2 separate regions of the Homo sapiens genome follow, and region 2 is linked to region 1. The links are contacts of gene promoters, found by promoter capture Hi-C in human tissues and cell types (Jung and others, 2019). All regions are on one chromosome and are shown on one strand. The core of a region is centred on a gene start or on the middle of the fragment in contact, and the rest is flanking DNA. Distances in the headings are between cores, read along the strand shown. Region 1 holds the start of ZFYVE9 (zinc finger FYVE-type containing 9). Region 2 overlaps TUT4 (terminal uridylyl transferase 4).

What was found. Contacts are between HindIII fragments. The study calls those that stand out against the background at their distance.
Region 2: a fragment that was not itself captured here is called in contact with the fragment with the promoter of ZFYVE9 in region 1 in 1 of the 25 tissues and cell types used here (stomach).

Annotation. Positions count from the first base shown.
Region 1 is chr1:52,139,748-52,145,897 of GRCh38, reverse strand. ZFYVE9 (zinc finger FYVE-type containing 9) reads right to left here and starts at 3,809. Exons shown (of 19, transcript NM_004799.4): 1 at 3,495-3,809. LOC107984956 (collagen alpha-2(I) chain-like) reads right to left here. Exons shown (of 5, transcript XM_047439476.1): 1 at 6,098-6,150; 2 at 4,609-4,705; 3 at 4,417-4,463; 4 at 3,495-4,121. RefSeq lists a silencer at 3,150-4,009. The HindIII fragment of the contact is 20,668 bases long and covers 1,817-6,150 here.
Region 2 is chr1:52,532,869-52,539,018 of GRCh38, reverse strand. The region is part of intron 1 of TUT4 (terminal uridylyl transferase 4); the gene reads left to right. The region is part of intron 1 of LOC105378723 (a long non-coding RNA gene); the gene reads right to left. Among named protein-coding and RNA genes, the nearest start is that of TUT4, 17 kb to the left of the region's middle. The HindIII fragment of the contact is 6,450 bases long and covers 17-6,150 here.

The sequences.
Region 1 (6,150 bases), core at 2,560-5,059:
AATAATTTGCAACAAGTGTACCCTATATAAAGGGAATACTAATTTATTGGCTAAAAATGAAATGGAAAACATACTAAAATCGAAATTGTTTTCCATAAAAAATTCCAAATCCCAAAAGTAGACTTAGTCTAAAAAAAATAAAGCAACCAAGTTTTAAGTCATGCAGAAATCCCAATGCCTGATTTTTGTTTTTCCCAAAAGGAAGAAAGAAATGTACATTTATTGAGCACCTCCTACATGACAAACACTGAGCTAATTGCTTTCGGTTACTTTTATCTCATGGAACCTGTTCTACTTTGCTAGGAGGGGTAGTGTTACCCCAATAGTACATAAGAAACTCAGAATCTAAATGTCACATCGCTTTAAGAGGTGTAGTAAGGATTCCTGCTCACATCTGACTCCATACTCTGTACCACATTATGCAATTAACAACCATAAAACACACATATATACGCCATATCTTTAGGAACATAAGAACTTAAGCTAAAATCCAGGCAATTATCTTTTAAACAAGCTTTGTGCCTTGCAACCAGTCTGTGGCTAGCACGTTTACAAGGTGCCACATAAAAGTTTACTGAATGGAATGAACAGTGGTAGCTTAGCAACAGAGGAAGGAATTATCATCTCTACTCACTCTACCTTTCTAAAAGAGTTAATAGGAAACTATCACCAGGCAATATAAGCAATTATTTCCTTAAAGAAAACACTGAATCAGGAATTGGAAGAGAAAGGAATAATCATACATAAAAAGTATTATCAATGTCCTTAAACGGCAAGATGAGACACAGAAGCCTTAAACAGAGATTTAGCACGTTCCACTCAATTTCAACACTTGTCTGACCTACCTTGTAACAGTTAATTAAAGGTATCCTGCTTCCACAGGACAAGTTTAGTAGAGCCCTTGGTCATTTTTGTGTTTCCTGGAATACCTATAACAGGACCTGGCACTTAAAAGCCAAAATTGTATAAAAATCTTTTACAGATTATAATACCTTTTCAGATTTATTTATCCTAAAAGCCTCGCAAGGTAAGCATAATAACTGAAGTATATGCATTTTACAGACAATGACATTGGTGTCCATTAAGTGCCAAAGTAAATGACAAGGTATTCTTTTAGCACACCACAGCTATCACAGGAGGCTCTCAATAAATGGTTGCTGATTGGATCAGCTGTCCCTCAAAATATCACTTTTCTTTCTAAGATTATTTACTACGAAAAATGACATCCTTTGAGCTGGAGCTGCAAGGAAGTAAAAAAAAAAAAAAAAGAAAGAAATGACTATTGCCACTAAAGACTTATAGTTTTGCTAGAAAATAGACACCTTCCTTCGGCTCAGCAAGGTTAGTTAATTTTAAACTTACTGTATCAGTGATTCTCAAACTTTAGTAGGTCTAAGAATCAGGGAGACTGATAAAAATAAAGTTCTTTGGGCCATCGTCATCCCTAGAATTTCAATTCAAGGGACCAAGAATCTGCATATTACATATAATACTTATATATATAACAAGCACTCTCAACTGATTCTAATGTTGGTGGTCTTGAGGGACACACTGAGAACTGTATTCAACTTTTTTTTTTTGAGATGGAGTCTCGCTCTGTTGCCCAGGCTAGAGTCAGTGGCCCAATCTTGGCTCACTGCAACGTCTGCCTCCCAGGTTCAAATGATTCTTGTGCCTCAGCCTCCCGAGTAGCTGGGGCTACAGGTGGGCACCACCATGCCAGCTAATTTTTGTATTTTTAGTAGAGACGGGGTTTCACCATATTGACCAGGCTGGTCTTGAACTTCTGACCTCATGATCCACCCGCCTCGGAGAGGGGCATCTTGCTTACGTTGCCCAAGCAGGACTGGAACTCCTAGGATCAAGGGGTCCTCCCCATTCAGCCTCCCTAGTAGGCCTAGCCATCACACTTTGCCTGAATTAGACTTTTAAAAATCGAGATTAACCTACCCAAATAACTGGTAATGAAGCCAATTTTTAAAAGAAATACTTAAAATCTGACAAAAACAATGCAAGGCTACAGCATCTAACACAGTAGGTCTTCAAAAACGTGTACCATGCCAAACTTTCTCCCTAGATGGAGACCCCATGCTGCATAGAAGGTTAAGTCAGGGATCTTTTAGGTAGTTACCCATATTCTTCTGTTTTAATTGATGAATTCAACATGGTTCCAATGTAATTTAGTAAAATATTTTTACAGGTCTTATACAAATGACAATGTAAAATGGAACAGTCAGATAATTTTAAACCTAATATACAGAAATAATAATTTTAAAAATCACTGTCAGTACGAGCCCATTATAAACCTGTACTGTTTACAATCTGTGAGATTATGGGTGATTTCTCCTATTATTAAATATTTATTAAGAGCCAACATGGTACCTTTCTATAATTCCCAAGTTTTCTACAATAAGCATATTTTTTCATGATTATAAAAGTTTTGCAAGTACCTATAAGTCTTATAACTTTCACATACATAACAGGAAAACAAGAATAACCTGTAATCACATTTCTCACAAAACATAAATATCTGACTTACGGTATCAAACTGTAATCAGTAGCATTTTCAACATTAATATCAGAACAAATCATTTTATTTCTAAAATTTAGCATGTATCCCATTTCCTTCAGGTATTTATTAGGGTAGCTGGCACTTAAAGAGGACTTAAAATCCTTTTGCCAACTATTCTCTGGATCTCTTTAAGTGGAACATTTTTGTACCGAACACTGAAGCATAAAAATATTTCTTCTGGCGGGGTGTGGGGGGCAGACCTTTGTAAAAGACGTTTTTATAACTGTGAGTGTTTATCTACAAAACTTAGCATCGCAAAGATGCGATGGGGCTTTCTCCAAGGCAGACCACGCTTAGAGGCAAGATATAATATAAAGAGGCAGGAATGAGCAACCGGCAGGTGATGAAATTTCACCTCAAATAAGACGCAAAAGGTTGTTCTCGAGCAAGCCAGATCCATGAATGACACTCCAGGAGTAGCAGGGGCTCTCTTGGTCCCGCACTCTCTGCACCCCCAATTCTCACCCTGGCCTTCCTCTCCTCCCCCTTTCCCCGCCACAACCGGGATTCTGAGGGACTCGGTATGGGACGCGTGGAAGCCAAAGCTTGTTTGCAAACAGGCGTCATCTGCCTCCCTCCGGGATGTACGTGCAGGGCCCGGGCTAAGAGGCTGCGCTCGGCCCGGGCCCATGCAAACCCGAAAGGCGGCCGTGCTCCTGCCGGCCCCCAGCTCCACACACCCGGCCGCGCCGGAACCGAGGCCGGAGCGAGGGCTTCCCAACGGCGCGGGGCCTAATCGCCCCCCACGGCCTTCAGCCTCCCGGGGGACGCGGGGAGAAAGGGCTGAGGCCCCAGGACCGCAGGGTGGGGGAGGCGACCGCAGTGGCAGGACGCCCCGTCCGCCCGGCCCGCGGTCTGCCGCCAGGGCCCCCACAGGCGGCGGGAGGCCGGCGAGCCCCGGACCACGCCGCGCCACACTCACCTCGAGCAGCGGCCGCCTCCGCTTCAGCATGGCCACGGGGGTCGTCCCTGAGCCGAAAGCCTCCTCCGGAGGGCACCGGCGCGGCCCCAGGCGCCGCCGCGAAACCTCCCACTCCTGTAGGAGCTGCGGTAGCCGCAGCTGCGGCTGCTACTGCTGCTAAGGCCCGGCACCCGCCCAGCCGCATCGGCGCCCGGGCCGCGGCAGCCACGCGGATCCCGGAGGAGCGCCGCCGAGCCGGGCCGGGGGCGCAAGGCTGCGGCGGGACGACCGAGGTGCGGCAGGCGGGGATCCTCAGCGAAGCCTCCAGCGTCGGGTGGCCGCTCCTGCCGCCGGCGCCGCTGGGCCACAGCGCCCCCTGGACCCCACGTCCGGCTACGGCGTCGGGACTGCGGCGGCCGCGCTGGGCACGAGCCGCAGGGAACGCTAAGGAGCGCGGCCTGGGGGCGGCGAGGGCCCCGTGCTCCCTGCGTAGCCCGCGGCCCGCGGCCGGCCCGGGACTCCGCTTCCCGGGAACCGGAAGCCCCTCAGTTCCCACCAACCCCTGGCGTTCCCCGCCCCCGCCAGACCCGAGCACCTTTTCGTTCTCTCCCGAAGATACGTGAACGTTCTTGTCACTCGGACCCGCACCTGAGAGCAGGAATATAAGGGAATCTCCGTTTGACTCTCACGGTTTCGGGGGTGGCAGGGAGACCCCCTTCTAATTCCTTTAATGCGTCTGGATGAAAGAAGAGTGACCCAGAACAAACCTTTTTTTCAAACATACACACTCGTCTCCCAAAACAGACGAAGGAATTGTCTTTGACCTTAACTTGTTTTTTTATCTACTGTGTAGATCATTAAGAAATTTTCTACAGATATCAACCAAACCCTTAACACCTAAACCACCACCCCCACAAAACAAAAATGAAAAAAAAATACATACATATATATATATGCCAAGCCAGAGAAGAGAATAGCCAACGGGTTGTCCTGAAATTCATAAACAACTTAAAGGTAAGCAAAGAATCACCCATCTTTTACTAACATCCTCTCCCTCCCAACCTCTTCTCTCCCACCTTTCCACCCCTCATCCCAGGCAAATCCTAGTAAGGCTCTGAAGGAAGGAAATTATTACACAGTGGGGGCTATGGAATCATTCTGTTTACAGATGCCCCATATTTGATCCCAGTCAGCCTCTAGGGTGCAAACATCAGAACCAAAAACAAACACGACTGTCAGAGGGGAAGTAGGGAAAGAAAATTCTCCAAATCCTCTGATCCCTAAATTTTCCAAATACACTTTTTTAACAGAGTGGTATACTAGAATGTGTAGTGATTTTGGTGTCAGACACATACCAACACTACCAGTTCCAGTTCTGTCATGTATATATAGCTTTATGACCCTGGGGAAGTTATGTAACATTTTTGAACTTCAGTTTTCTCCTGCCTGCCTTGCTGGTTGTTGAAGATTGGAGATAAAGAGACTGGCCCATAGAAGATACTTAATAAATGTTAGTTACAATTTTTATTGGTTCCAGTTCTTTTTCTTAGGCTCAATTTTGTACTCCTCTGTTTTTGTTTCTCATTCTCTCTCTCTCTCTCTCTCTCTCTGTGTGTGTGTATGTGTGTGTGTATGTGTGTGTGTAACTGTATTTCTGTCAAAAGATAGATGCTCCATTCTTCATCCTCCCTAGTCTGGGTGAAATTTCCCTAAATTTCACTAATGGGTTTATGTAACACCCCTCCATGGAAGAATAGAGCCTCATACACTGGATCCTATGACATTCTGTTGCACAGCAGATAGCAGCATGCAACCAGTATTTTTTATGTATAAAAAATGTTATAAGGCAATCTCACCTTACCTTAGGTTATGGCCTAATGATGATAAATAATAGAAACTACAAAAGGTCTCCAGGAATCATTCATTTAATAATTGAGCAGCCACCATGGAGAAGATGTCACCTAGTAGCTCTCTTAATGAAAGCTGTTCCTGCATAATCCTAAGTGTGCCTTTGCCACATACTCCTGAGTCACAAAAAAATCACTATGCCCTTTCTATAACAAGAGAAACTGGGGCTCAAAGGGAAACCATGATTCATCCTCGCAGTGATTCTATGAGTTAGGTCCTATGCTACCATTTTACATGTGAAATATATCCAACCTAAGGAAGAGCTGGAAGTAGACCCTGAGATTCCCTTCAGTCCCCAACCTGATGCCCCAACAGTCCTTTCAACAATATTAACAAAATGCTGTAAGGGTCATTTGTTGCTAAAAAATGTTTAGTCAAGGGAAAAGGGCCCTTCAACTGATTGAGATCATTAGCGCTGTAACCTAATATTAGCACTGTATTTTTCATGCCTAGATCACTGCCACCACAGGAAACCTGCATTTGTTTATGAATAATCATGCAACCCAGGGCATAGCTACTACATGAAGAAGATGATTCATTTGTTCCCAAGACCAGTTTCCTCTTGCTTCACACTTTCTCTCCTTGTTGCTGAAAGCAGCTGCCTTTATCATCACAACCTCCCCGCTGATCGGAGTAGTCCACTTTAAATCATTTCATCCTCTTCAATTTCATTCCATCGTTTTCAGTTTGCCCTCTGCTTCTAAAATGTCTCTCACCTGTTTTCCTCTCTTGTACTGTAAATCTCTTGTTCATTTTAATCTCCCTTGGG
Region 2 (6,150 bases), core at 1,992-4,491, 390 kb before region 1:
GTACAAATTATCTCCAAATTGTATAACTAGTGGTGGTTCACATCTGTAATTCCGGGATTCCTTTGGGAGGCTGAGGTGGGAGAATTGTCTTGGTGCCCTAAAGTGTTGGGATTACAGGTGTAAGCCACTTTACCTGGCTTCAACACTCTCTTTAACTTGGTGGTAAGTAAGGCAGGAATGAAAGGAAAAGGAGATATGAATTGCACTATCTTTCCCTTTCCTTCTGCATCATCATTTTTAGAATAAATGTTTAATTCAGGGAAGTAATATTAGTAAGGAAAGATATGATAGGATTCTTTGATCATTCATGTTTTTTTAATCTTCTTTTTCATTTTTCTTTTTTTTTTTTCTTTTCTTTTCTTTTTTTTTTTTTAGACAGAGTCTTGCTCTGTTGCCTAGGCTGGAGTGCAGTGGCATGATTGCAGCTCACTGTAGCCTTCACCTCCCAAGTGCAAGTGATCCTCCCACTTCAGCCTCCTGAGACTGGGACTACAGGTGCCTGGCTAATTTTTTATATTTTGTAGAGATGGAGTCTCCTGTGTTGCCTAGGCTGGTCTAAAACTCCTGGACTCAAGCGGTCCTCCCAGCTTGTCCTCCAAAAGTGCTGTGATTACAGGCATGAACCACCGCACCCAGCTCCCTTTTTTTTTCTCAGTTGCCAAAACAAGAGCATTTATTTGTCTTTCATGTTACATGCCCATTGGGGATAGAATGTATATTCTGCTGATGTTGGATAGAGTCTTTATATATCTGTTAGGTCTAATTATTTTATTTTATTTTTTTGAGATGGAGTCTTGCTCTTTCGCTCAGGTTGGAGTGCAGCGATGCAGTCTTGGCTCACTGCAACCTCCACCTCCTGGATTCAAGCGGTTCTTGTGCCTCAGCTTCCCAAGCAGCTGGGACTATGGGTGTGGGCCACCACACCCGGCTAATTTTTGTATTTTTAGTAGAGACGGGGTTTCACCATGTTGCCCAGGCTTTTCTTGAACTCCTGACCTCAAGTGATCTGCCCCCTTTGGTCTCCCAAAGTGCTGAGATTATAGGCATGAGCCGCCATGCCCAGCCAGTCTAATTAGTTTGTTTGTTTATTTATTTATTTATTCATTTTTGAGACAGTTTTGCTCTTGTTGCCCAGACTGGAGTGCAGTGGCCCGATCTCAGCTCACAGCAAACTGCCTTCTCGGTTCAAGCGATCTTCCTGCTTCAGCCTCCTGAGTAGCTGGGATTACAGGCACGCGCCACCATGCCTGGCTAATTTTTGTATTTTTAGTAGAGATGGGATTTCGCCATGTTGGCCAGGCTGGTCTTGAGTTCCTGACCTCAGGTGATCCACCTGCCCTGGCCTCTCGAAGTGCTGAGATTACAGGCATGAGCCACCGCGCTGAGCCAGTCAAATTAGTTTATAGTGTTACACAAATCCTCTGTTTCCTTTTTGATTTTCTGTCTGGTTGTTCTGTTATTGAAAAGTGGGGTATTGAAGTCTCCTAAGTATGATTATAGAACAATTTCTCTTTTCAATTGTGTTAACTTTTGTTTCCTGTATTTTAGGTCACTGTTGTTAGGTGCATATGTTTATAACTGTTATATGTCCTTGCTGGATTGAACCTTTTATCAATATATAATATCTATCTTTGTGTTTTGTAACCTTTTTTGACTTAAAGTGTTATTTTATCTGGTAATAATTTAGCCCCAGCTCTCTCTTTGTTACTCTTTGCATGGAGTATCTGTTTTCATTTTTTCTTATAACGCCTTTGCTCTTTGTATCTAAAGTGAATCTTGTAGATAGATGATAGATTGTGTTTTCCAATTTGCCAATCTCTCTCTTTTTTTTAATTTTTATTTATTTATTTATTTTGAGATGGAGTTTCACTATTATTGCCCAGGCTGCTGGAGTGCAGTGGCACAATCTCGGCCCACTGCAACCTCCGCCTCCTGGGTTCAAGCGATTATCCTGCCTCAGCCTCCCAAGTAGCTGGGACTATGGGCGCACGCCACCATGCCCGGCTAATTTTTTGTTAGTAGAGACGGGGTTTCACCGTGTTAGCCAGGGTGGTCTCGATCTCCTGACCTCATGATCCGCCTGCCTTGGCCTCCCAAAGTGTTGGGATTACAGGCGTGAGCCACCGCGCCCGGCCTATTTTTTAAAATTTAATTTAATGTTACTTTTTTGAGACGAAACTCTTGTTGCCCAGGCTGGAGTGCAGTGGCACAGTCTCGGCTCACTGCAACCTCCACCTCCTGGGTTCAAGTGATTCTCCTGCCTCAGCCTCCCAAGTAGCTGGGATTACAAGCACCCACCACCACGCCCTCTTATTTTTTCGTATTTTTAGTAGAGACAGGGTTTCACCATGTTCTCCAGGCTGGTTGTGAACTCCTGATCTCAGGTAATCCACCTACCTCGGCCTCCCAAAGTGCTGGGATTACAGGCGTGAGCCACCACGCCTGGCCAATCTCTCTTTTTAATTGGAAAGTTTAATTCATTTACATTTAAAGTAATTACTGGTAAGGATGGATTTACTTCTGCCATTTAGCTCTTTCTTTTCCATATGTTTTTTATGCCTTTTGTTCCTCTAATGCTGCCTTTTTATGTATTTAGTTGATTTTTTATAGAATTATAATCCTGTTTTGATTTTGTGTGTGTGTGTTACTTTCTTAGTGGATGCCTTGGGGATAATGATGTAATTAACATCTTAAATTTATAACAACCTAGTTTGAATAATGCCAGCTTAGTTTAAATAGTACGCAAATACTCTGCTCCTACTCATCTTTCTCTCCTCCTTTATATTTTTATTGTCACAGATTACATCTTTATATAGTTTGTGCCTATTAACAGAGGTTTGTAATGAATTTTTATGCATTTGTCTTTTAAATCATGTAAAAGGGAAAAACCCAAGAGTTACCAAAATTACAATAACATTGGCTTTTATATTTACCTATGTAGTTATTTTTACTAGTGTTCTTTATTTCTTGTTATGGATTTGAATTATTGTCTAATGTCTTTTCATCTCAGCATTAAGAATTTCTTTTAGCACTTGTACGGCAGAATGAACTTTCTCACTTTTTGTTTATCTGGAAATATAATTTCTCCTTCATTCTTGAAAGGCGGTTTTACTGGCTAGAGAATTCTTAGTTCACAGCTTTTTTCTTTTAGGACTTCAAATATGTCACTGCATTGCCTTCTCATTTCCATGGTTTCTTATGGGCAATCAGCTGTTAACTTTTGTTTGATGAGTTAAATTTTCTTGCTTCTTTCAAAGTTCTCTTTGGTTTTGACAATTTGACTCTGTCTCAGTGTGGATTTCTTTGAGTTTACGCTGCTTAAAGTTTATTGAGCTTTGTGGAGGTATATACTTGTGTCTTTCATCAGATTGGGGAAGTTTCTGACCATTGTTTCTTCAAATATTTTTTCTACACCCTTCTCTTTCTTCTTTCTGTGACTCCTATTATGCATATGTTGGTACGCTTGGTAGAGAAGAAAATGAACAGTATTGCCCAGGGAACAAAATGCCAGAGAACAAAAAATACAGAGGGCAGAAAAAAGTTTGAGAAAGAATTTTAGTGTTCTGAATATTAGTGGTCTTTAGAAATATGAGATTATAACTATGAAACAAGATCAGAGTGCTGTGAAAAGGAATAATTAGAGAGAGTTCTTAGAAATAAAAATATGATAGAAGAGTTGGAAGATAGAGTTGAGGAAATCACCTAGGAAGGAGAACAAAAAGAAAGGTGGAAAAATGGAGAGAAAAGATAAGAAAATTGGAGAATCAATTTAGGAGGCCCAAGTCTAATTAATAGGAGCAATAGAAAGAGAACAGAAAAGATGAAAAGGAGGAATTTATAGTAGATAGAAGAAAAAAATTTTACAGAAGTGAATGATGTGAATTACTGATGAACAGAGCCAGCTGACTATGCAACAAGATGACTATGCAACAAGATGAATGAGGAGATATCTACAGCAGGCTTATTGCTTGGAAATTTCAGAATACCAAAGCAAAGAGATCATCCTAGAAGTTTTCTTAGAGAAAAAAACAGGTCAGTAAAAAAGGTAAAGAATAAGAATGGCATAATTTTCTCAGTGCTAGTCCCAGAAACTAGAAATCATTGAAAACATTTTGAATGAATAATTTCTAACCTAGAATTTTATTTTATTTTTTTGGGGACGGGGTGTTGCACTGTCGCCCAGCCTGGGGTTCAGTGGTGCCATCACGGCTCACTGCAGCCTTGACCTCCTGGGCTCAAGTGATTCTTCCACCTCAGCCTCCCAAGTAGCTGGGACCACAGGCATGCGCCACCACATTTGGCTGATTTTTGTTTGTTTTTTTTTTTTTTGTAGAGACAGGGTTTTGCCATGTTGCCTGAGCTGGCTTTGAACTTCTGAACTCAAATGATCCTCCCGCCTCAATCTACCAAAGTGCTGGGATTGCAGGCATGAAGCACCGTGCCTGGCCCTAACCTAGAATTTTATACCTAACTAAATGAGGTGTGAAGATACAATAAAGATATTTCAAATATGCAGTTTTATAAAATTTACTTCTGGTTGGAGTTTACGGGGGTCCAATAAATAGCACCCCTTTTGCTTTCCTGAATTTTCAACAAATTGGGTGAAACGAAGGAAGCATATGGAGACCAGAAGATAATTTTATTTTTATTTAGTTTTTATAATTTTATTTTTGATCACGTTCAGTTTGGAGAAGGCGGCTTATACTTTCAACTGGTTTACTGATACCGAGTGCCAGAATTAGGCAGACTTAGCCCTCAGGAACTGGCAGAGCTGAACAACTGCAGGCCCTATGTGAGCCTTACACCTGTAAATGTTAGAGTATGATGGAACAGAATGGGAAGGAGAGGGGACGGGGCTAAGTTTTGTCTGGATTATTTTCCCAAACTCACTGATGAAGTAAGTTACCTCTTCTCCTTAGGCAAGGAATGAATGAGGGGAGTGGAAAGAGGTCAGGGATGTTATGATAACGGGTATCCGTCTACATAGAATGAAATATCGAAAGTGGGACATAATTATTTTCTTCAATATCTTTCATGTTTTCTTCCTTTTTTTGAGACTGAGTCGCACACTGTTGCACAAGTTGGAGTGCAGTGGTGCAATCTCAGCTCACTGCAATCTCCGCCTCCCAGGTTCAAACGATTTTTGTGCCTCATTCTCCCCAGTAGCTGGGATTACAGGTGTGTGCTACCACACCTGGCTAAATTTTTTTGTATTTTAATAGAGACGAGATTTCGCCATGCCAGGCCAGTCTTGAACTCCTGGCCTCAAGTGATCTACCTGCCTTAGCCTCCCAAAGTGCTCGGATTACAGCCGTGAGCCACTGTGCCTGGCCTCATGTTTCCTTTCTTAGAAAGCTGCTGGAGGGTATGTTCCACCAAAAACAAGGGAATAAATCATGGAAGAGCTAAAAAGAAGAGTCAGCATGAGAGAGCGTAAGGGAATTGGTAGGATGATAGTGAAAGGAACTCTCAGTATAACGACAACTGTAGTGAAAGTATAGTAACGACCAGAAAGCTCCCAAGAAGGGATATCCAAGGAGAGAACAGCAACAACAAAACCAAATTACTTGATGTGTTTGATCTTACTGAGAAGATATTTATAGTTCTGTCAATGAATTATTGATAGGTATGTAGAAGAAGCTTAAGAAAAATGAAGTGATTAATTTCAGGTAAAACTGAAAAGTATACCAAAAGGGAAATGTGATTAAGTATATATATTTCTTAAGTCAAAAGCTAGATCCAGTAATAGAGTGGCTTAAAAAACAAAGAGTTTTATTCCTTTCTCATATAATAGTTGCTGGGTAAATGGTCAGGAAATCTAGATGAGTAGTTTGTTCCATGTGGTCATTCAGGGGCCTAAGTTACATTGATCCTGCTGTCTCACCAAAAGTATGGCCAAGGACTAGCTGAGTGGACATGACCTGGGTTTGTTTGAAATGCAGAATATTGGAACCCACTCCCAATCTACTGAATCAGAATCGCATTTAGTTGTTTATTCCTATACACAAAAGTTTGGGACTCACTGGTCTGGATTAGAACATGATGGTTGAATGATTGAAGCGGGGCAGTTGAAAATTTTATTCAGTGAGAAGAGAAAGAGAGCATGAGGAAGTGAGAACTTTATCAGAAGGCCACATCAGACTGCAGAGA